7 separate regions of the Homo sapiens genome follow, and regions 1, 2, 3, 5, 6 and 7 are each linked to region 4. The links are contacts of gene promoters, found by promoter capture Hi-C in blood cells and fetal thymus (Javierre and others, 2016). All regions are on one chromosome and are shown on one strand. The core of a region is centred on a gene start or on the middle of the fragment in contact, and the rest is flanking DNA. Distances in the headings are between cores, read along the strand shown.

Evidence for each region. The method cuts DNA at HindIII sites, captures the fragments that hold promoters and counts their contacts. A CHiCAGO score of 5 or more calls a contact.
Region 1: a fragment that was not itself captured here is called in contact with the fragment with the promoter of ACAD11 in region 4 in 1 of 17 cell types (total CD8 T cells); the score reaches 5.7 in total CD8 T cells.
Region 2: a contact is called between a fragment that was not itself captured here and the fragment with the promoter of ACAD11 in region 4, in 2 of 17 cell types (fetal thymus and non-activated CD4 T cells). The highest score is 5.6, in fetal thymus.
Region 3: a fragment that was not itself captured here is called in contact with the fragment with the promoter of ACAD11 in region 4 in 7 of 17 cell types (naive B cells, fetal thymus, naive CD8 T cells and 4 more); the score reaches 11.0 in naive B cells.
Region 5: a fragment that was not itself captured here is called in contact with the fragment with the promoter of ACAD11 in region 4 in 1 of 17 cell types (fetal thymus); the score reaches 5.5 in fetal thymus.
Region 6: a contact is called between a fragment that was not itself captured here and the fragment with the promoter of ACAD11 in region 4, in 1 of 17 cell types (total B cells). The highest score is 6.4, in total B cells.
Region 7: a fragment that was not itself captured here is called in contact with the fragment with the promoter of ACAD11 in region 4 in 1 of 17 cell types (total B cells); the score reaches 6.0 in total B cells.

The regions. Positions count from the first base shown.
Region 1 is chr3:131,495,064-131,497,924 of GRCh38, forward strand. The region is part of intron 4 of MRPL3 (mitochondrial ribosomal protein L3); the gene reads right to left. Among named protein-coding and RNA genes, the nearest start is that of MRPL3, 6.5 kb to the right of the region's middle. The HindIII fragment of the contact is 189 bases long and covers 1,321-1,509 here.
Region 2 is chr3:134,253,375-134,256,074 of GRCh38, forward strand. No RefSeq gene overlaps it. Among named protein-coding and RNA genes, the nearest start is that of RYK, 3.9 kb to the left of the region's middle. The HindIII fragment of the contact is 4,822 bases long and covers 1-2,700 here.
Region 3 is chr3:133,800,129-133,803,016 of GRCh38, forward strand. The region is part of intron 1 of LOC105374116 (a long non-coding RNA gene); the gene reads right to left. It also overlaps a transcript of SRPRB not described here. Among named protein-coding and RNA genes, the nearest start is that of SRPRB, 4.2 kb to the right of the region's middle. The HindIII fragment of the contact is 2,438 bases long and covers 243-2,680 here.
Region 4 is chr3:132,658,395-132,661,094 of GRCh38, forward strand. It overlaps ACAD11 (acyl-CoA dehydrogenase family member 11), which reads right to left and starts at 1,415. Exons shown (of 20, transcript NM_032169.5): 1 at 1,209-1,415. The coding sequence starts at 1,357. UBA5 (ubiquitin like modifier activating enzyme 5) reads left to right here and starts at 1,935. Exons shown (of 12, transcript NM_024818.6): 1 at 1,935-2,304. The coding sequence starts at 2,144. The region is part of intron 26 of NPHP3-ACAD11 (NPHP3-ACAD11 readthrough (NMD candidate)); the gene reads right to left. RefSeq lists enhancers at 1,717-2,255, 1,791-1,880, 2,251-2,530. The HindIII fragment of the contact is 2,892 bases long and covers 1-2,700 here.
Region 5 is chr3:133,822,519-133,825,257 of GRCh38, forward strand. RAB6B (RAB6B, member RAS oncogene family) reads right to left here. Exons shown (of 8, transcript NM_016577.4): 8 at 1,717-2,739. It also overlaps a transcript of SRPRB not described here. Among named protein-coding and RNA genes, the nearest start is that of SRPRB, 18 kb to the left of the region's middle. The HindIII fragment of the contact is 674 bases long and covers 1,040-1,713 here.
Region 6 is chr3:134,480,026-134,483,051 of GRCh38, forward strand. It overlaps ANAPC13 (anaphase promoting complex subunit 13), which reads right to left. Exons shown (of 3, transcript NM_015391.4): 2 at 2,781-2,906. The coding sequence starts at 2,879. Among named protein-coding and RNA genes, the nearest start is that of ANAPC13, 4.4 kb to the right of the region's middle. The HindIII fragment of the contact is 1,099 bases long and covers 845-1,943 here.
Region 7 is chr3:130,896,394-130,899,331 of GRCh38, forward strand. All of the region lies in intron 2 of ATP2C1 (ATPase secretory pathway Ca2+ transporting 1), which reads left to right. Among named protein-coding and RNA genes, the nearest start is that of ATP2C1, 3.8 kb to the left of the region's middle. The HindIII fragment of the contact is 295 bases long and covers 1,358-1,652 here.

The sequences.
Region 1 (2,861 bases), core at 165-2,664, 1.2 Mb before region 4:
AAAAAGGCAACGTAGTCTAATTTCTTGGAGGCATAAATTCTTTACAGATTAAAAGAAAACAGTTCTAACACTATTATAAAGTGATTTAATTTCCAAATGTTTAGATATATGAAATTTTATATTCATAGGTCTTCGTTTTTTAAAAAATCCTCTATAATCAATCGATTTGCATTTTTTCCTGAGAGCTATAATATGGAAGTCTGGATACTTTTAGTTTCAAAAATCTTTGTTTTCAAACAAAAATGATGTATTTACAAAGAATTCTAAAACTTCATTTTCACATTTCATTTTGAAGAAAGGTCATTTTATAGACAAAGCTTTTTCTTGTTATTGTAATAAATGTCATCTGGACTTAGAAATTTTATATCTTGAAGAAATTTTATATCTTGAAGAAAGAAGGTCCTTCGCAGTACTTTCTATGCTAGAGAAGTGAAGTTTTCAAAGTTTACGTAAATTAAGTGGGTCAAAATCCACCACAACATTAGAACACAACATCCAAATCACCCTGCTGTGCTATGTAACCACTGAAGAGAATAAAGCTATCAGAATAAGCTAAAGAGAAAAAAATGTGTGAACAGCCTCGACTATGAAATGCAATACCTATCATTCTGTAATATTAATTATTAGTACTGTTATAGTAATACTATTAGTATTACTTTCATAAAATTTTGATTATAACACATCTTTATCACTAAGTAAAATAGAATAAATTGAGCTCCCATGTACTTTTTTTCTCCAAACTTGTTTTTTCTTGAGAATTAAAATATTCAGAGAACCAATGTGAGACTTTCAGAACTGGAAGATAATTCAGAGACCATCAAGTACTATTCCTTGTTTTTATGGGTAAGAAAATAGATGTTCAAAAGGTGAGTATAGGGGACCTAAAGGTAGAAATCAGGATTAGAACTCAACTTTTCTGATCCCACATCACTTGTTTTCTCACTACCTCATATTTCAGAGGAAGCAATCTTCACAGACCTGGCTGGGGCAGAAGGGATTACCCTAGCATGCTTGATTTACAAATATCCAGGCCATGAAGGCATCAATTTACAAAACTTGTAATGAAAATGAAGATGATGATGCTAGTCATTACAAAAACACAGAAGTACAATCAAGTAGAAAACAGTGGCATCTATCAAACCAAAGAATTACTCATATGAAGGCTGGTACATAATAAATTTTTAAAAAGTCAAACACTTGATTTTTTTAAAAAGTTCCCATAAATATCTCATTGTACTCTATAATTACTATGGAGTTATATGAAACCCAAATTTGTTAGTCAATAAACTGTTAAGAATAGCAGGACAGATATTATGACAAAGCTTTAAAGAAAAATAAATGGAGTATGCTACCATAATATTCAAAAATAGCTAACTTCTCTAACACGAAACAAAATAAACCATGTCACAGATTTCAGTGATTTCCACCACCACTTATTGACTAATCAGTATTTCTCACCATTTATAGAACTATGATTTCCTGTGAACATCTCAAACATCTTTCCTCCAAAGCTTCCCTTTTCCTTGTTCCTATCCCAGAGTATGCAATCAGCACTGACCTAGTTGTGTCCTCCCACCTAGTCCTTTCCAATCCCTGCCCCTTCCAATCTCAATGCAACTGCCTTGCTTCTAAAGGCTCTTATCAACTCTCCCCTGATCTCTTAAAACAATCTCCTAAAAACTCTTTCCTTCTATCAGATTTTTAAAATTTTAGTTAACTAATTTAACAATCTGAACAAGTTACTGACCTAGTTAAAGAATTCAGAAAGCACCTCAAAGTCCGTAAGATGAAGTCTAAACCTCACACACTACCTTGATAGCTGCAGCTTCACCACCCTCCCAACACTGGCCCAGGCCTGCACACTAAAATGCAGCCACATTACACTTCTCTCCCCAAGCACACATGCTCTTCCATGTTGTCTCTGCTTCTGCAGAGGCCATTCTCTCTGGCATGCCTGTAACACCCATTTTCCTTTCTGTTCTCCCTGTGAAACCTCCTGGGATTTTCCCTGGCAGAATTGGCTGTCTCCGGTTCTGTGCTCCTTGGATTTATAATATTGTACTGGGATGGCTGGTTTATTTGTGTAACTTCCTCACTAGCTTATGAGCTCCCAGTGGGTAGATATCAAGACACAGTTAAGTAAGGCTCTGGTGTCTGTCGCTCTACCTTTTACCAGTGGGTGACTTTGAATGAGTTAGTTAACTGCGTTAGCCTCAGAGGCTGAAAAGTTTATATAAAGTAACAAATGAAAAAAGCGTAATGCTTATGCACGTGGCATGTAATAAATGTTCAATAAAAGTTAACTATCAGAAAATAGAGTAGTTAGTAGGATAAACACCTGATAGTTTTGACAGTCAGAGAGTATGGGTTGTATCCTAATTTCTGCCTTGTTCATTTCATAAACAGTTTACAATGAAAAAAAAGTTTGTCTTAGAGATAAGCAATGTGTTATAGTAAACCTAAAGATGTTTACTGAAAACCATCACCATTTTGAGAAAGGTTTTCTGGTTTTAGTTATTCAATACAGGATACTCATTGGGCAGCTTTTCCAAACTTAAACTACAAACTCAGTACTCTACTTAAAAAAAAATGCTTTATTAAAAAAAATCTGATTTGGATTCTTATACAGCTTTCTCCCAAACACTGAAAGCTCCTTCCAGAATACACAAAATTAATTTCCACATGCTCTTGGTGTCAAGAGTTAAGACAATTTTCCATAGGAAGAAAGTGAAATGAAACATAAAACAATAACAAAATAACCAAATCTACTGAGTGTCTGTTATATTCCAAGCACATCTGAAAAACCTAATTTAATCCTTGTGATAAATCTATTAGGTATGTAGTATTTTTGTTCCCATTGT
Region 2 (2,700 bases), core at 138-2,637, 1.6 Mb after region 4:
TTGCCTGCTTTCTCCCTTACTCGCTCAGTCTGTTCCCAACACAGCAGACAGAGGCATTCTGTTAAACGTCAGCCTGATCATGTACTCTCTGGCTTTCAGACCACCAGTGGTTCCCCAACTCACCTAGAATAAAAGGCAAAGTCTTTCCAAGATGTCAAGGTAGTTCTCACTCTCCACCTTTCTCCCTTCCCTCTGACCTTATCTTCTGCTCACCGCCTACTCCCTTAGTTCCTGCCACACCACAAAGGCTTCCTTTCTGTTCTTCCAACAAACCAGACACAATCCTACCTCAGGGCCTTTGCACTGCTGTTCCCTGTCTCTGGAATGCTTCTGTCTGACACCCACATGGCTTCATCTCTTACCTCCTTCAAATCTATGCTCAGATGTTAACTTCTGAATAAGATTGCAAACTTCCCCACACTTTAATTAAACCCTTGGAGAAGGAATTGATTCCCAGTCTCTCTCTTGCTGTCTCTGCATGACACTTGGTCTCACACAAAGGTCTTCCCACAATCCCCAGCCCATCCTGAAGAGGAAGTTTCCTCTCCCTCCCCTAACAAGGTGTGGGTGGCAACTTCTGAAATTTCCCAAAAAGCCTCAGCATGAAAATGAGAAACCATGACCACAGCCTCCTGAGGTTTCTTTGCCTTGGGGAAATGAAAGCCACAGTCATCAACACAATCCACACATTGGCCCTCCACTCTTGGTTTTGTTTGTCACAGTGGTTGACCTTATTCTCCTCCTCCAGGAGACATATTTCAGCATGGCCAGGAAATACCATCAGCAGGACTTGTACTTTAAAAAGCCAGTCTTGGACTTGAGATGCCATGGGGTAGATGGGTAGATGGGAGCGTGGGGTCAAAGCTACACAGAGATGATGGGTGTTCCATGTTTGACCTCTGGTGTGGGCTGAGAATACCTGGTGCCCGCAAGGACAGACACCCAGAGACAACTCAGCAACATGGACCTGACCCAACCACTCAGCTGGGTGGGGGTGGGTGGTTGGAGAAGGGGTGGCTCCAAGTCCTGAAATCAGCCTCGTCTTTTGCCAGGAGCAGTTGGGAATGTGGCTCTCTCTATAAACCTTCTCCTTCCACAAGTAATATATTAAACCATTTGCACTGTAAAAGAGTCAAGCAGCACAGAAGTATGTGAAATAAAATATAAATATGTCCCTCCACACACACCCTCGTCTCTCTTACCCACTGCCCAGTTTGATGTATGTTCTGAGAGCCCTTTCTCTAGGCAGTTACTCACACATATATGGGTTTAAACACACAATTGTATGTGTGTGCTCTTTTTCAGCCTTATAGAAATGGACAACACAACAAAAAGTTGTGATCTACAGGATTTGCTTTTTTGACTGATCTAAGTAAGTTGAGATCTCGAGGATGTTCTCATGACAGGGCATACAGAGGCATCCCTGTGGTGTTCTTTTGGTTGGGATGAACTGATGGATTTTACCAGTTCTGGTAATACACATCAAATCCTTGCACATACATCTTTGTGCATATGTATAAATATTTAGAAGAACAGATTCTCTGAAATGGAATCTTCAAGTCCAAAGGAGTTATGTTTTAATTTTGATAGATTCTGCTGAATTGCCTTCCAAAAGATTTTACAAATATACATTTCCAAATGTGGCATAAATGAGAGACACAAGGTAATAGGCCAATGTTTTTCATTTTGCTGTTGACAGTCTAGTGAAAGAAAAATAGCTTATTGTTGTTTAATCTGCATTGCCCTCATCACTAGTGCGGTTAAGTATCTCATATACTTATTGCATATTCAAATTACTCTTTGAAATATCTGCCCACATATTCTATTTTTTAGTTAGCTTATTTGTCTTCTTATTGATTTATGGATGTTTTCTTTTACTGTATCCCTTGTCATTTAACTTTTCTTATGATGTTCTTTACTTAACTTAAATTTTGGATTTCTATTTTAGATAAATCTGACAATCTTTTCCTTTATGGCTTCCGCATTTTGTGTCTTTCAAAGGTCCCCCAATTAATACTTTTTGTATTTTGTACTTTTTTCTCTTAAAAAATAGCTCCTTAATCTATCTGGAATTTATGTTTATGTATGGCACATGATACAATTTTATTTTTTCCATATGGTTAACCATTTGTACCAAACACTAGTTATTACATTTACTGAATGTTCCTTAGTGGCCATATCTAACTTTAAACAAAACAGGAATTTCAGCCTGCTTTCACTTCCCTCTTTCTTCACATACCTTTCACATTGAGATCATGTAGTTCTACACTGGCCAGTATAGTAGGCACTAGCCACATGTGGCTATAAAGTACTTCAAATGTGGCTGGTAGGAATTGAGATGTGCTGTAAGTGCAAAGTACATGCCAGATATTGAAGACTTGGTATTAAAAAAAAAAAGAATGTAAAATATTTCATTGATAATTTTTATATTGGTTGAATGTTAGAGTGGTAATATTTTAGATATATTGTGTTAAAATATATTATTAAAATGTATTTCATATGTTTCTTTTACCTTTTTTGACTTTACTAGAAAATTATGTTTATGGCCTGACATTTCTATTGGGCAGTGCTGATCTAGATATTAGTTCCAGGTTGTTCAGCATTTCATTTTAAAAATTACATTTTTCATAGCACTTTAAACAATTGACAAATGGCATTAGCTACAGTAACTGAAACTAAAATAGGCAAGTGATCCTATGA
Region 3 (2,888 bases), core at 212-2,711, 1.1 Mb after region 4:
GTCTCAAAAGGTTAAGACATCATTTGTTCTCTGTGCTGCTCCATCAGCAGATAGGGACCACCTAGGACCTCCGGGTGTTTCCTTCCCAGATCAAGTCATTTAAATAAGTGCAAACTGGGTGCCTGCTAAGAGCCAGCAGTTTTGGTATAGAGCCAGACCTTCCCTATGCCTACACCTGAAAAATGAATGATTACATTGTACAATGTATGCTGTGGGACTGTCCAAAGTATCAGAGCTGAATAAGCTTAGATATGGTGCAATCAAGTGAGTGAGTCAGCTCTGAAGTGGAGCTCTTTGTCAGGACCTCTTGTGTTTCCAGTGGACTCACCTTTCTCCCCTTCCATCCTTTAAGGGACTGGAGGGAGCTGCCCAAGCTGCCTGGCCAGATGTCTGTGGACTAAGTGTGACTGATGGATATAGGGGACTGATCCTACTTGTATCTGACGAAGAATATTGAATGATGTTAGAGAAAATCCTAAATGGTGCCTCTATTCAGATGTAATTATTCTTACCAGCAGATTCTACTTTCTGAGAAGCTAAAATTAGAAATTAAATTTGGTAGGCTAGGGTGACATGTCCTCAAACCCGCTAAGGCAGGGATGTGAAGCAGGAGGATGTCAGACAGGAGCCTGGGGCACAGCAATGGACACAGTAGGCCTGGGATCATTCATTCAACAGTTGACCAGTGCCTCCCATGAGCCAAGTACTGTTCAGGGATGGGGAATACAGAGGTGCATACTATAATCTCTTTAAAAATAACGTGTTCGTTTGTATTTACTGCTCTTATCCATACAGCCTTCTTATTAGTACATATGTACAGAGGAATGTCTTAAATATTTATCAGATACTATAGGTAGAAAAATAGAGGTGATTTGTGGCTTTCATTATTGCTTGAGTTTTTAATATAATAAGCATGTGTTAAATTCTGTTTTTAAAAATCCTCTAAACGTTTTTTTAAACAAAGCCATAGCAGGGGAATCCCATGATTGGTATCCCTAGGTCTGAGGTATGTTCCATTGTACATTGGAGCTTTGGGGAGCGGATGGAAGAAGGTGTCTGGTGAATGGGACATTTTAGTTTATGGAAGAGAAGAGAAAAATTCCCTGACTACAACTGGTTTCATTGTAACTTTCCATCTGCTATTGGAATCAAGAACTAAAAACTTATCAGCAGGCAGCAGTCAGTATCGCATGTCCTTCCTCTGCATTCGTGCCCACGGAGCTCCTGATGGAGATGGGTGAGTACAGGGAAGCAACTAATCTCACCCCTCCTGCTCATTCCTGAGAATGGGAGTGCTAACTTCTCACTGAGTGTGGGAGCTGTGCACATTTCTTCTGCCCAGGAAACATACTGAAGAAAAAAAGTCTCTTTTCTTGAACCTTTTTTCTTCCTTTCCCAACTTCACCACCACGGCAGCCCTCTTCATTCACATAGCTCTGACCAAATATCCTCAGCGAGTTAAGACAGTTACGGTTGGAACTCTCCGTGTCTGGCTCTTCCTTCTTCCCTGCATCTTTGGTCCCCAGTCAGGAGGTCTAATGGTAATATCCAGTGATTTTTCTAAAGAGGAATCAGTGGTTATATTATACAAGGGGTGTGTGCGTGTGTTTTGGGTGGTGAATACAGAGCAGCGGTTAGGACCATAAGAAATAAGAGAAATGGAATGTGGCATGACCGCTGCCAGTTCTGATATTTTTGAAATTGGTAATTTAAAATAAAGTAGTTGGTTTACTTACTTAAGCCTCACATCTTAACCGTCCTTCCTTGATCTGGAGTTCCTATCGCCTACCTTTATCAATTAAAAATGCCTTGAAAATGAATCCTACTATGTTAAAGCATACGGTTAAGTAGATAGAAGCCCAATTGCCTGGGATGAAGTCCCAAGTCTGCTCATTACTATATATCCTTGGGGAGGTTACTCAACCCTGCTTCAGTTTCCCCTCTGTAAAATTAGAAAATGAGTCAGTGTGAGAATTAAACAAATTAATACATTAGGCAGGGCGTGGTGGCTTGTGCCTGTAATCCCACCACTCTGGGGGGCTGAAGCAGGAGGATCACTTGAGCCCAGGAGCTCAAGACCAGCCCAGGCAGCAGAGAGAGACTGTGTCTCTACAAAAATAAAAATAAAAAAACTACCTGGGCATGGTGTTTGTGCCTGTAGTCCCAGCTATTTGGGAGGCTGAAGCAGGAGGATCACTTGAGCCCAGGAGTTCCAGGTTACAGTGAGCCCTATTGTCACTGCACTCCAGCCTGGGCAACAGAGTGAGACCCTGCCTGAAAAAAAAAATTAAAAGTATTTAGAATGATGCTTGGCACCAGGAAGTGCTCATTAACATTAGAAACTATCTTCATGCCCCACTGTCTTCCCCATACACCATAGTCTTGCTTCCATCCCCACACTGCCCCATCCCTTGCTTATCCCCTTGAGCTCAGACTCATTCAAAGCCTTGTCAAAGGAGCCTCTCTGCTACAGAAGATGCTACTGACCACTTATAGGACATGTCTGTTTTACTCCTGTGCCACTGACTCTTCCTTCTTAGGCTTTTTTGTGGGTTCCTTTCCTCATTCTTCATGTTCTCCATGATTTTAATGACCACTTATTTATTCCTGACTCCCAAATGAAAATCTAGTATATACTTGTGGAACTTTATTTGTGTTTACTCATCACTTGCTTGACATAAGCTTTTAGATTTCCCAGAAGCACCTAAAACTCAACATATAGAAAAGAGACAATTTTCATTCTGGCTACTCTTACGTTGGATCCACAGCCCCAAGCCCTCTCCCGTTGAGGTCCCTAATTCATTTAATGGCTTTCTCATCTTCCTAGTCACCCACACCCACCACCTAGGATGCAGCCTTGATAACATTCCTTTTACTTAATTCACAAT
Region 4 (2,700 bases), core at 165-2,664:
GGTTATGGTTTAACATTCAGCTTGGTTCAGAATTAAGTATCTTTCAGTTATGTACCTCTTCAACACTCCTACAATATGAACGTTACTATCTCCTTTTTGCCAAAGCAGGACTAGATGTTCAAAGGGTAACTTGTCCAAATTCCACAGCAATTGAAATAGTTGAAATTTGAACTTTGATCTGTTTCAGTTTGTTACAACACAAGGCTTCTAGCCTAGAAATCTCAGCTATTCTTTATTCCACCTTTCCCTTCATCTTCCAATATCTATTGGGACATGGGACCTTTAAATTCTACACCCTAAAATGTTCCCTGATCCATCTCATTTATTATTATTTTCATTTTCACCAAAATCAGTAGTCAAAGAATATAAATGCTAGTGATAAAATACCACTAGCACACTATGTTGTTGCAATTTTTACGCCCTTTCACCTATATTACGGTATTTCATTTCATTAATAAGACTAATCAAAATAGGTATTACAACTTAGGAAACTAGTTCTCAGAGTGTTTATGTAACATATTTAAACTCCCAGACAGCAAGTGACAGATCCAGTTTTCTGAATGATAGGACTCTTTCTGTAGCCCTGTATTAGTAACAATGTTATTTTTAGAATAAAGTTTTAAGAATGTATTATCTATTGTAAAACATCAGACTAAAGCCAGATTCCCGGTGGGGAACGCTACTCTCAGGATCCTCTCACTCAGTTCCATTACCTCACTTCAAAAAACCTGAGGCCCAAAGTGGTGCTGTGACCTCCTAAGTGGAAAAGCTAGTACTCGAATTCGGATCCTCCATCTGGTGTCATTAACTCAGCCTCCCGGAATACGGCCAATCAAACGGAATTACACCAGCTTCTCAGAAAAAGATCTAATGGCTGTATCACAAAAGAAGGCATCTATTTCTCAGAATTTGTAGCCTTAATTGCCTTGGTGAATCCTCAAGGGACATAAATCCATCCTTTAACAAAGATTCCTTTGGATAGTAGAATGGTGAACGTTATTGCGCTTCCATTACCGCCCTCCAATTGGGAAGCCCCCAGCATCGAATTCGGAGGGCCGGCAATAGCAGCTCATGCCTGTAGGGTGCGTCCACTGACTGCAGGAAAAGCAATCAGGGTGGGAGAAACTTAGGAAACCACCCAGGGCCAAAGGAAGGAAAACTCAATGTACAAATTTTTTTCCGCTGGAGGCAAAGGCTGACATCCATACCTGTACTGGGCAATGGTCAGCGTAGCCTCACGTTCGGCCCCAAAGCCAGACAAGTGCTGGTTTAGGTAGGCCTCCAGGGACTTGCTGTCGAACTTGTGCTGGGGCAGCACTTCGGCCAAATCGGACTCGCCAGTAGCACCTGGCTTCATGATCACCCCCGCAGGCCACAGCAACGCGGCATCCACAGGTCTCGAGTGCCGAAGTCCTTCAGGATTGGGGCAACGTCCCCTCTAGAGCATGGGCCGAGGCCGGGGTGGGGTCTGGCTCCAGCCAACCGCACACAGCCTACGCGCCGTTGCTGAGCAACGCTTGCCCGCTGAATCCCGAGGTTTTAGCTCTAGTCAAGTGCCAAAAGAGCCCAATGTGTGTTCGGGTTTCAATTCTCCAGTCAGCGTCAGAGTTGGAGGCCTCAATTTTAAAGAAGGCAAAGCCATGGTCATCGTTGCGGGTAAGGAACAACGCAGAAGCCTCTTCCACCCCCAAATTTAATGCAACAGCAGGCGGAAGACCTGCAGGGTCCCGTTCAGAAAAAGGGCCGTCAGACTGTCGAGCCTAAGAATAAAAAGACCCTGTTTCTCTTAGATACCCGGTTAGCAAGGCAACATCGCTGGCCTCCTGCCCTGGACACTTATCACCCCGGTGCTGCTGCGGCCGGGTTTAGCCGGCCCAGCGAGGAAGGAAGCCGAAAGAGCCAGGTTTTTGATGAGGGGGAGCGATGTCTGCGACGCACCGGAAGCGGCTCCGAGGAAGGCCTGTGGGAGTCTCGGAGACGTGTCTGTCTGTGAGGCGCTGGGTGCACGTCCCCAGGGCTCTGGGCTAGGAAGGCAGCGGCGAGGTGCCTCCCCACGTACCCCTCGCGGGCCCAGCCGAGCAACGTGGGGCGAAGGCGGCGGCGAAGGCCCGGGCTGGGAGCGTTGGCGGCCGGAGTCCCAGCCATGGCGGAGTCTGTGGAGCGCCTGCAGCAGCGGGTCCAGGAGCTGGAGCGGGAACTTGCCCAGGAGAGGAGTCTGCAGGTCCCGAGGAGCGGCGACGGAGGGGGCGGCCGGGTCCGCATCGAGAAGATGAGCTCAGAGGTGGTGGATTCGAATCCCTACAGGTAACCTGCGTCGCCGGTCGGAGGCAGGCGCGGGGGACGAGGTCAGGCTCCGTGAGGTCAGAAGTGAGGCGCTTCCCACGTCCCGCTCATGGGGACGCCCGCCACCCTTTTCTTGGTCTGCGAATCCTGTTCCCAAATGGGCAAGGCCACATCTTAGTACTGATCGGAAGATATTCTTTCTCTTTTTTAAAAACCTCCAGTGAGTCAGCCATATGGTGCTGCTCCTGTGCCTGCTGAGGACGTGTGTCCAGTTTCCTATCACCCTTGCCTCTTAATTAGTCCGCCTCGCTGTGTATAAGACTGATAGTAAGAACTTTCAGAAGATGAGATCAAATATTAAACCTGCTAAGGTAAACTTTGAGTTTCATTAAAGGCTTATCAATGCATCTTAAATGG
Region 5 (2,739 bases), core at 127-2,626, 1.2 Mb after region 4:
GGGTTCCTAATCAACAGCAGCTGCTGTTGGTGGGGAGTCCCTGGGGTCTGTCACTTCTTCCCACTGCCTCTGTCTCAGTGCCTCCTGGGCTGTCAGTGTTCCCCTGTGGTCCTGCCTTGTATGAAGCGCTGGCCATGCTCTGTTGACTTAGATCATTTCAGCCAGTCTATGTTTTTTCTTGTTTTTGAAGTTTTGGGTTCAGCACAATTGTCAAAGCTTCAGTTGGCTCATGCCTGTCCTCACCTGAAGGCCATCAGTGGCAATTAAGATGCCTATCTCTTTATCTCATCCCTTCACACATTTAAGGAAAGGTGATCACCCACCTACCTTCATTTAAATGCGCAGGAAAACAATCCCACTTCCCTTCAACTGTAAACCTCGAGAAACTTGACTGCTCACAAGAGCCTTGTACGCATTTATCCATTGGGTAAAGGCCACGCCTTGCAGCAGACCATGGAAATACTAAACAAAACGCAATTCCTGCTTTAGAGGCTAGTAGCCCCATTCTGAGGTTAAGAAACGTGCCCTTTCAGTGTGGTTTCCCTGCTCTCTCAGTAGTGTGAGCTCCATCACTGCTGCACTTGACTCCTAAGCGCTGTGTGGGCTTGTGGTCAGCTGCCAGCCATGCAGCCCCAACGGGACTGCCACTTTTCCACTGGCCTCTGAAGTGCCAGTGTTCCCATGATGCTGATGTGTGAGGCACATGGCCATGTTCTGTTGACTTGAATATATTGTTTCAAGGGTTTTTTTGTTTTGTCGAGACAGAGTCTCACTCTGTCGCCCAGGCTGGAGTGGCAGTGGTGCCGTCTCGGCTCACTGCAACCTCTGCCTCCCGGGTTCAAGTGATTCTTCTGCCTTAGCCTCCCCAAGTAGCTGGGATTACAGGCCTGTGGGACCACTCCTGGCTAATTTTTAGTAGAGATGAGGTTTCACCATGTTGGCCAGTCTGTTCTCAAACTCCTGGCCTCAATGTCTCTTCTAATCAAAGATGGCTTCCTTGAGGTGGCAGCAGATTGGAGGGTGTTCTGGAACCTTTATAAGCTTTAAAAGGAAAGGTAATTAGTGAAGTTGGACTTGAAGAAGAGTGAGATTCCCGGGCAAGGGCAATTTACCTAATCTTGGCCTTTGTTCCTCTTTGGATTGGTCCCAGGACTGTGCTGGCTTTCTGAGCATCTTTTAGTCTGGAGATAACTGAGACCTGGAGGGGCCACTCAGGGATGTTCCTAACTGGTGTGGTGTGGGGCTGGGGATGGAATATGGCAGCTAGATGTTGTCAAAGGTCATTATAGTTCACCTTAAGTTCTTGCCTTTAAATGGCTTTCTGAAAATCACCAGAAGCATGAGAGATCCAGTCCCTGTACCCTCTCCCCCCTTCCTAATCCCCTAGCCATGGCAAGCAGAGTGGGGATGAAGGAATATATCGTACCCCTGACTCAGTTCTGCCTGGAGGCTCCCTTCCCATCAGCCTTTCAGCAGAATGGAGATTAGGGGAATGCGTGTGGATTTACTCTCATGAGTGTGTCCCATCTTTACCCCTTCGGAGTTGGTGGACAGCCCAACTCCACCAGTAGGAGGAAGAAGCAAAGCAGCAAAGGGCTTTAGGTAGTGGACATACCACCCAGGCATGACAAAAGGGACTCTGTGGAGCACACACTTCAGGAACTGTTTTTGAACCCCCCCATTTATGACTGCACCACTTAAACACAGACAAGAAGCTTTGTTTTGAGAATTAGGACAGTTTATTGTTTGACCAACATGCTGAGTCTTTTCCACATTTTACACAGTTTAATGTGAAATCAACATGGCGGCTATGTCTTCTGAGCCCATAACAGATGGAATTGCCACCCTCTGTGCTCCTCACAGCCAATCACTTTAAAGGGATGGGTGAGGGGAAAGTGAGGGGAGAAGTGGACACACACCGCGAGATGCAGGCTGGCCTTCAATGCTATGGAGGCTTCCCACCTCCTGAAGGAACCATCTAAACCCCTGCTGCAAGGATTTCCTGATGAAACCACACACTGCTGGGAGTGCCAACCAGACAGGGGTCTGGAGTCCAAGGAGTTTGCACATTGAGATCCCAAGGTTTTGGAACACCTAAATAGTTCATGTCAAACAAAAATTCAAAGGGTGTCCTGATCTGTGTGGGTGCCCATGACAATCAATCAGAGTAGACTTGGGGACTGGCCCTTGTGCAGTAGAGGAGCCCAAAATACCACCAATATTCTCACTCATATGCTGGGAAGAACCTAGTGTCCTAACCAAAAAGAGTAGAGATGGTCTGAGGAACACACCCACACACAGCAGTCCTTGCTGTGTAATAAATATGGAGTCACATTTGTTCACACACAGGGCAGCAATGGATGAAAAATGGAAACTTCACTGGTTCTGATCACTCCTAACTTGCTGGGTGATCTTAATAAGCAAGTTGCCCTTCTCCATCCTGGTTTTCCTGCCTGTAGACAGGAAAAGTTGTGACAGCTCTGCTTCACATAGCTGTAACAAGGTGACAATGCCTCACATTCTTTGGGGAGAGGCAGTTCGGAAACGAGTGTGCGCACAATCTGCTCGGTTGATGCACACAGACATCCTTCTGTTCAGCTGCCCCTCAAGTGGCTCAGACATGCCTCACTGTCCTCGGCTACCTGGTCCCATCTCATCCTGACATCCTCACCTGCCTTCCATCTTGTGAAGGAATGAGGCTGCTCTACCTGCAGGATGCTGAAGCCAGGAGGGCCATCC
Region 6 (3,026 bases), core at 144-2,643, 1.8 Mb after region 4:
TCTAAAATTATGCTCAATATATATTAAATGATATTTACTTATCTATATTTGAATCACATACATCTTGTTCTACAAGACAGATTCAAACATACTTGAACAGATTGAGAAGAGCTATCATTTATTGTAACGCAATAATATATTATCTTAAACTTAAAAAGAAAGTTCAGTCCTAATAATTACTTATAGATGACAAAGAATAAATAGGTCCTTGGTTAATGAATTCTTTAATTCAGAAGCAGACAACGTTGCTTAATTTCATCCTATCTGTGGTATGCTTTCTAAAATAATGTGTCTTTCATTTGGTATCTACTGTCCCTTGCAATACATGCCAACACATAAAATGGCATATATGCCTGGAAAACAAAAACAAAAGTATCATAAACCCAGCCACCCATTATGGTGTACTGTAAAATGCCCTTAGTTCTTTGCAGCTACTCTTATCAAAAGGTGAAACTGATTTCCCCAATCTTGGATTTGGACTGGCCCTGTGAGTTGTTTTGGCCAACAGAATGAAGCTGTCATGCCAGTGGGCCAGTTCTTGGCCTAAGCTCCAAGAAGCTCTGCCGTTTCCTCTCAGGTTGCTCTTGGAACCCTGAGATTGAGAAGTCTGGGCTAGCCTGCTGGATACCAGAGACCATGGCATAGTCACCCCATCACCCAGCAGACAGCTTGTTAACTGCCAGACATGTGAGACAGTCCTAGATTACCCAGCCTCCAGAGTCTGTTGGCTGACTGCACAACACAGGCAAGCCTGGCAGGGATCAGCTGAGCTGGTGCAGACTAGAAGTCCCTCCCAGCTGAGCTACAAAATCATGAAATAAACAGTTGCTCTTTTAAGTCACTAAGCTTTGGGGTGACTTGTTATGCAGCAAAACCTAACTGGCATACACATTGCCTTAGAATCGCAAGACAAGCGAAAGGTGTGGATTAGCAGCAGGGCCAAGCCAACTTCGCCTGGAAGTCAGCAGGGAAACCTCCTTCCACCCCTGCCACCCAAATGTTCTCCAATCTGAGCCATAAACTTCTCCAGAAATGGACGTCTCCTTTATTTTCTTGACTTTGTTTAGGCCCTCCTCCCTTGCCTAGACCACAACAGCTTGCCAATTGGTCTCACTTGCCCCTATCTCCATGTCACACCATCTCTAACAATGCTGGCTAAACTGATTTTCCAAAAGCCAAATCTGAGCATAGCAGTCTTGCTTTTAAGACCATTCATTCCTGGATCTCCTGAGGATGAGGTCTAAGTGTGATATCAAATACCACTCTCAATCTGATCCAAGCCCAACTTTTCAGCCTACTTATGTGACAAATGTATTCTTCATCCACAGTGAATGACTCACCATGTCCCAAAGCCTTTCAAAACTCTGGGCCTTTACACATCTGTCCCCTCTGCTGCAATACCCTTGTCTACCTCCACTAAACTTCTGGTCCTTCCTTATGACCCAGCTTAAACATGACATTCTCTCAGAAGCCTTTCTGATGCCCACCAGGCAATCAGCCACTTCGTATATGATGTGGCTGTTTATGCCCCCACCTAGAATATTTATTATCACAATTACTTATCTATAAGTGTTGCCTTTCTAGACCCCTCAGGAGGAGGAACTGTATCTTATGTTCACATAGTCTTATGGCACACAGTAGGCTTCAAAAAATGCTTGTCAAATGAATGAATGAACAGAAGTTCACAAGACAGGATTTGGAACTTCACAGACCTAGGTATATGTTATATGAAGCCCTACTTACCTGCTACCAGACTTTGGGCAAGTTGCCCTTTCTGATCCTATTCTTTTCCTATAAAATGGGAATAACAGCACCTCCCTCACAGGGTTGTTTAAGAATTAGAGATAATGTATATTTCCAACCTCAGTCCATGGCATAAAACTGGTATTCAATAAATGACATCTATAATTCTTATTATGCTCTCTCTTTTGACTATTTTCCTAAGCTTGAACTAAGCTATGACTTATTTGATATGTATATTATTCATTGAACATATTACTATCTCTTATTCGTAAATGAAAATACAGATGAACTATTTTATTTCTTTGCAAACAGCAACAGCAGATATTCTAACTATAAATTATATTTTATTCAATACTAACTACTCTTCTCAGGGCAGCTGGCATGCTTTAAAGAAAAACAGTCCTGTTTTCCCTTTTTTAGGCCTCTATGACATAAATAGGATTTTAAACAAACATTTATATAAGCAAAACTTTTGGATCACTTATTACATGAGGTTTAACAAACTCCCTGCAGCAGAGTTTTCCAAAGATGGGGAAGAAAAGAGTATTCCAGAAGGCCACTGGCCTAAACGCAAAAGAATACCCAGGTATCTTCTGAATATTTTCCAGGGAACCTAAGATAGGTGTATGCTCCAAGAATGTAAGTTTCTAAAAATGCTGAAAGACTGATGAGCCACAGGCAGGGAAGTAAGAAACAGAGCTCATATGCTGCTGCTTCTTGTTCTTCCCCATCTTGCGCATTAAACTCTCATTATTTGGTTTCTCTGGTTTTCGTGTGGTGGACAGAACATGGCTCAGAAAATCGGGGCTCTAGTCCTGGCATGACTCCTAACTGACCTGGCCATGTTAGCTCCCTGAACCACATTTTTCTTCAAATAAAACATACAACTGGATGCTCTCCAGAAGCTTCTAGAGTTAGAGAATTCCACAGCTTTGATTTCTTTGCCACACTAGTTTATCTTCCATTGATATCCCTCCTCCACTAGTTACTGCCAGATCAATACCTTTAACCCATCCTCAGCTCAAATCATAACCTACCAGTGGTATTGCGACATCCTCATAAGGCAGCTTGTCTTCTCGCCAAGCATCATCAATCAAATCCAAGATCCTTCCATCTCTCTGAACCTCACTGTCCATTTTCCTGCAGCTTTGATCTTGTCAAATCTGTAAGCCAAAGAGGTTATTTCTTAAACACGAAGACTGAAGAGATGGTATAATCCACTATTAGGATTCTCCAGGCTTTTTAGTCTGGGGCCACCTTTTGGGAAAAGGTTCATTTTCTCA
Region 7 (2,938 bases), core at 255-2,754, 1.8 Mb before region 4:
AGTTCTTAAAAACGTGTGGGGTTTTCTGTCCCGTTATTCTTGACCATCAAGAGACCATTTTTGTCAGTTTCTCCCTATCGTCACATTTTTTTTTATATATAAACAGTTTGAAGAAGAGCCTGTATATAGCCTAGAAATTTTCAAAAGTGACTGACCATATTAAACTACATAGATTGATACCTGTGCCTTTTTATTGTTCACTTGCCTTTTTGTAGTTTTCATCCTTCTTTGATATAGTGTAGTATTAACAATTTGGAGGTGTGAAACAAAAATGGATTCAAGTCTTGACTAACTTGTCTTGAACCACTTAAAGCTGTGTGATTTTAAGTAAATTACGTCACCTTTCTGAGCCTGTATTTCTTCATCTATAAATTGGGATTGATAATCTTTAACTCACAGAATTGAGAGGATTAAATGAGAAACCCTGTATAAATTCTCTTGTGAGGTAGGAATGATAACGTTTAAGAGCTTGAGTTGTGGTGGAACCATGCAGACTGATTTGAATGCTGGATTCGTCGCTTACCATTTGGCTTTGTGCATATTAAAGTTTTCTGTGCTTCCGTTTCTTCATAAAATAAAGATAATGATAGAACCTACCTTATGAGGTTGTTGTAAACATTCAAACAGTATCTGGCACATAGTAAGTGCTCGGTAAATGTTAATTATAAATTGCCTAGCTGAATGTTTGATACATACTAATAGGCCACCTGGCATTAATATTGTCATGACAGTTAAATGTTGGAAGGGGGAACAGTAGTAGCCAAATGCTCAAAATGAAGTTGTCATTGTTAGTTGAGGGATAAGTGGAGTTAGGTAAGGAATTTTCTATGGCATTAGTGCTTTTAAGCCTACAGAAAAAGTTAGGGCTCTACCAAGAAGCCAGGGTCCAGTACAGAAAGAGACAGGTTTGGATTTGAAGCCCGACAAGTAATGTTTTCCTCTCCTGAAAAATCTGACAAGTTACTAGGCTTCTAAGCTTTCTCAGCCTCTAAGTTATCTCATCTGTAAATGAGATAATGCCCTCTTGCAAAGTTGATGTGAGTAATAAATGAAGCCGCCAGAGCAATGTTTGACATACAGTTAACTTGGATGAATTGAGTGATGCTGCTGTTCCCTAGTAAGAGTATCCTCCAGTAGGTATGCAGGTAGTTACATTTGTGGGTGTGAACAGTGTAGAATTGATAGTGTTTCCCTAGAGCATCAGCATGAAGGTTTCTTAGGTAGCTTACAGTGGTGTGGGGAGGAAATGGTTTCATCCATGTGTTGGTTCCTTCAGCAATGGTGGTATTTTCTTTGGCACTTCGGTTTAGATTCTTCTGGACTTTTTTCCTAGGGCCCATTTAAACTTTCTCAGCAAAGCTTGACCAATTTTTAGCTGTAGACTCCAGGATGTTTCATGAACACTTTCTGCTTGTCACTAGGAACGTTTAAAATGTTAATTTCCTGGAATTTTTGGACTACTTAACATTCAGTCGTGAGTTAGGATTTTATCCAGATCCTTTGGAATTTGTTTTTACATGTTTATCACAAATCTAAACAGATCCCGCTTAGGCATCTTGAGATGCACAAGTAAACAGCTCTTACCTGATTTTTAAAAGTTAATTGCATGTTTAAAGTGATAGCTTACTAGAAAAGATATGTCTAGCTGGAGAAGCTTGCACATAGGTTTTCCTTTCTAGTAATGGATTTATTTTTTGGAATAAATTTGGCCTTTCCCATAGAAAATTCAGTGTGACTTTAATACACATGAAACTTTAATATAGCCTTAAATGTTTGACTAGTGGATAGAAATGTAATAGTCTTCAGGATTTCAGGACATGGTTAATTTAAGATTATAGACAGAGCTAATAGGTGTAGAGAACAATGCCCCAATCTTTTTTGTTTGAAAATGGTTGTATTTACACTTTACTTTTAAAAGCAGTTTCTTAATTCAATTTCAAATTGTTAATCAGCTAGGAATGTCTCAAGAAAAAATTGCATTACTATAGTTGGAGAAGCTATAGGGAAAAAGGGATGAGAAGCCACCTTAATTTTATTCCTTTAACTGAAAATAGGAAACCAGGTTATAAAAATATATCTTTGGGTGTGGGAAATATAGTTTATGTTGTTTGCAGTTTTGTCCATAAAATGATAGTCTTAATTAGTACTCTGAAAAAGAGTTGAAACTAAAAGAGATTATATATATGACATTTTGTAAACTGTAGTAATTTAAGCCAGAGGATGCTGTAGAGAGTACTTGTATGCAATAACCTTCTGACAGTTGGATTCCAAATACTTGATTTGTCTTCATATTTTTGTCATTCATTTAAAGTCAGCAGAATTCAGGTCTGTTAACGCAAAGCATTATGAAACAAAATAGTTTCCTAGGGAACACACCCCTAGGGGCCCAGGACTGATTTTGGAGATCTTAGTTAGCCATGATCTGTTTTGCAAGGTTAAATTTTGTTTTAAAGGTGCCAGGAACACTGTGGCTTGATGGTAAAGTTAGCATGAATTTTAAATTACACCGTTGTTACATGTAGCATCTTAAAATATCTTAAGGATCAGTTCAAGAGGTCCCCTCACATTTACTTTGTTGAAACAAATTCTTTTTAATAATGGTTTCAGGCATCAGTTGTGACAAGGTTATCTTTATGCTTTTCATGTAGACAAATGTTGGTAAAAGGCAGTAAAGGGTGCATCCTGAGGTTAATGCCATCATTTCATGAAAGAAAGGATCTCTCAAAAAAAAGGCTAAATTGATAATTTCCTCTTGGATGTATATGACTGCTACTTATATGCATTTGTTAATACAGTTGACCCTTGAACAATGTGGGGGTTGGGGTGCTGACCCACCATGCAGTTGAAAATCTGCATGTAACTTTTAACTCTCTGAAAACTAAACTACTAATAGTCTCTACTGTTGCCTGGAAGCCTCACTGATAACATAAACAGTCAA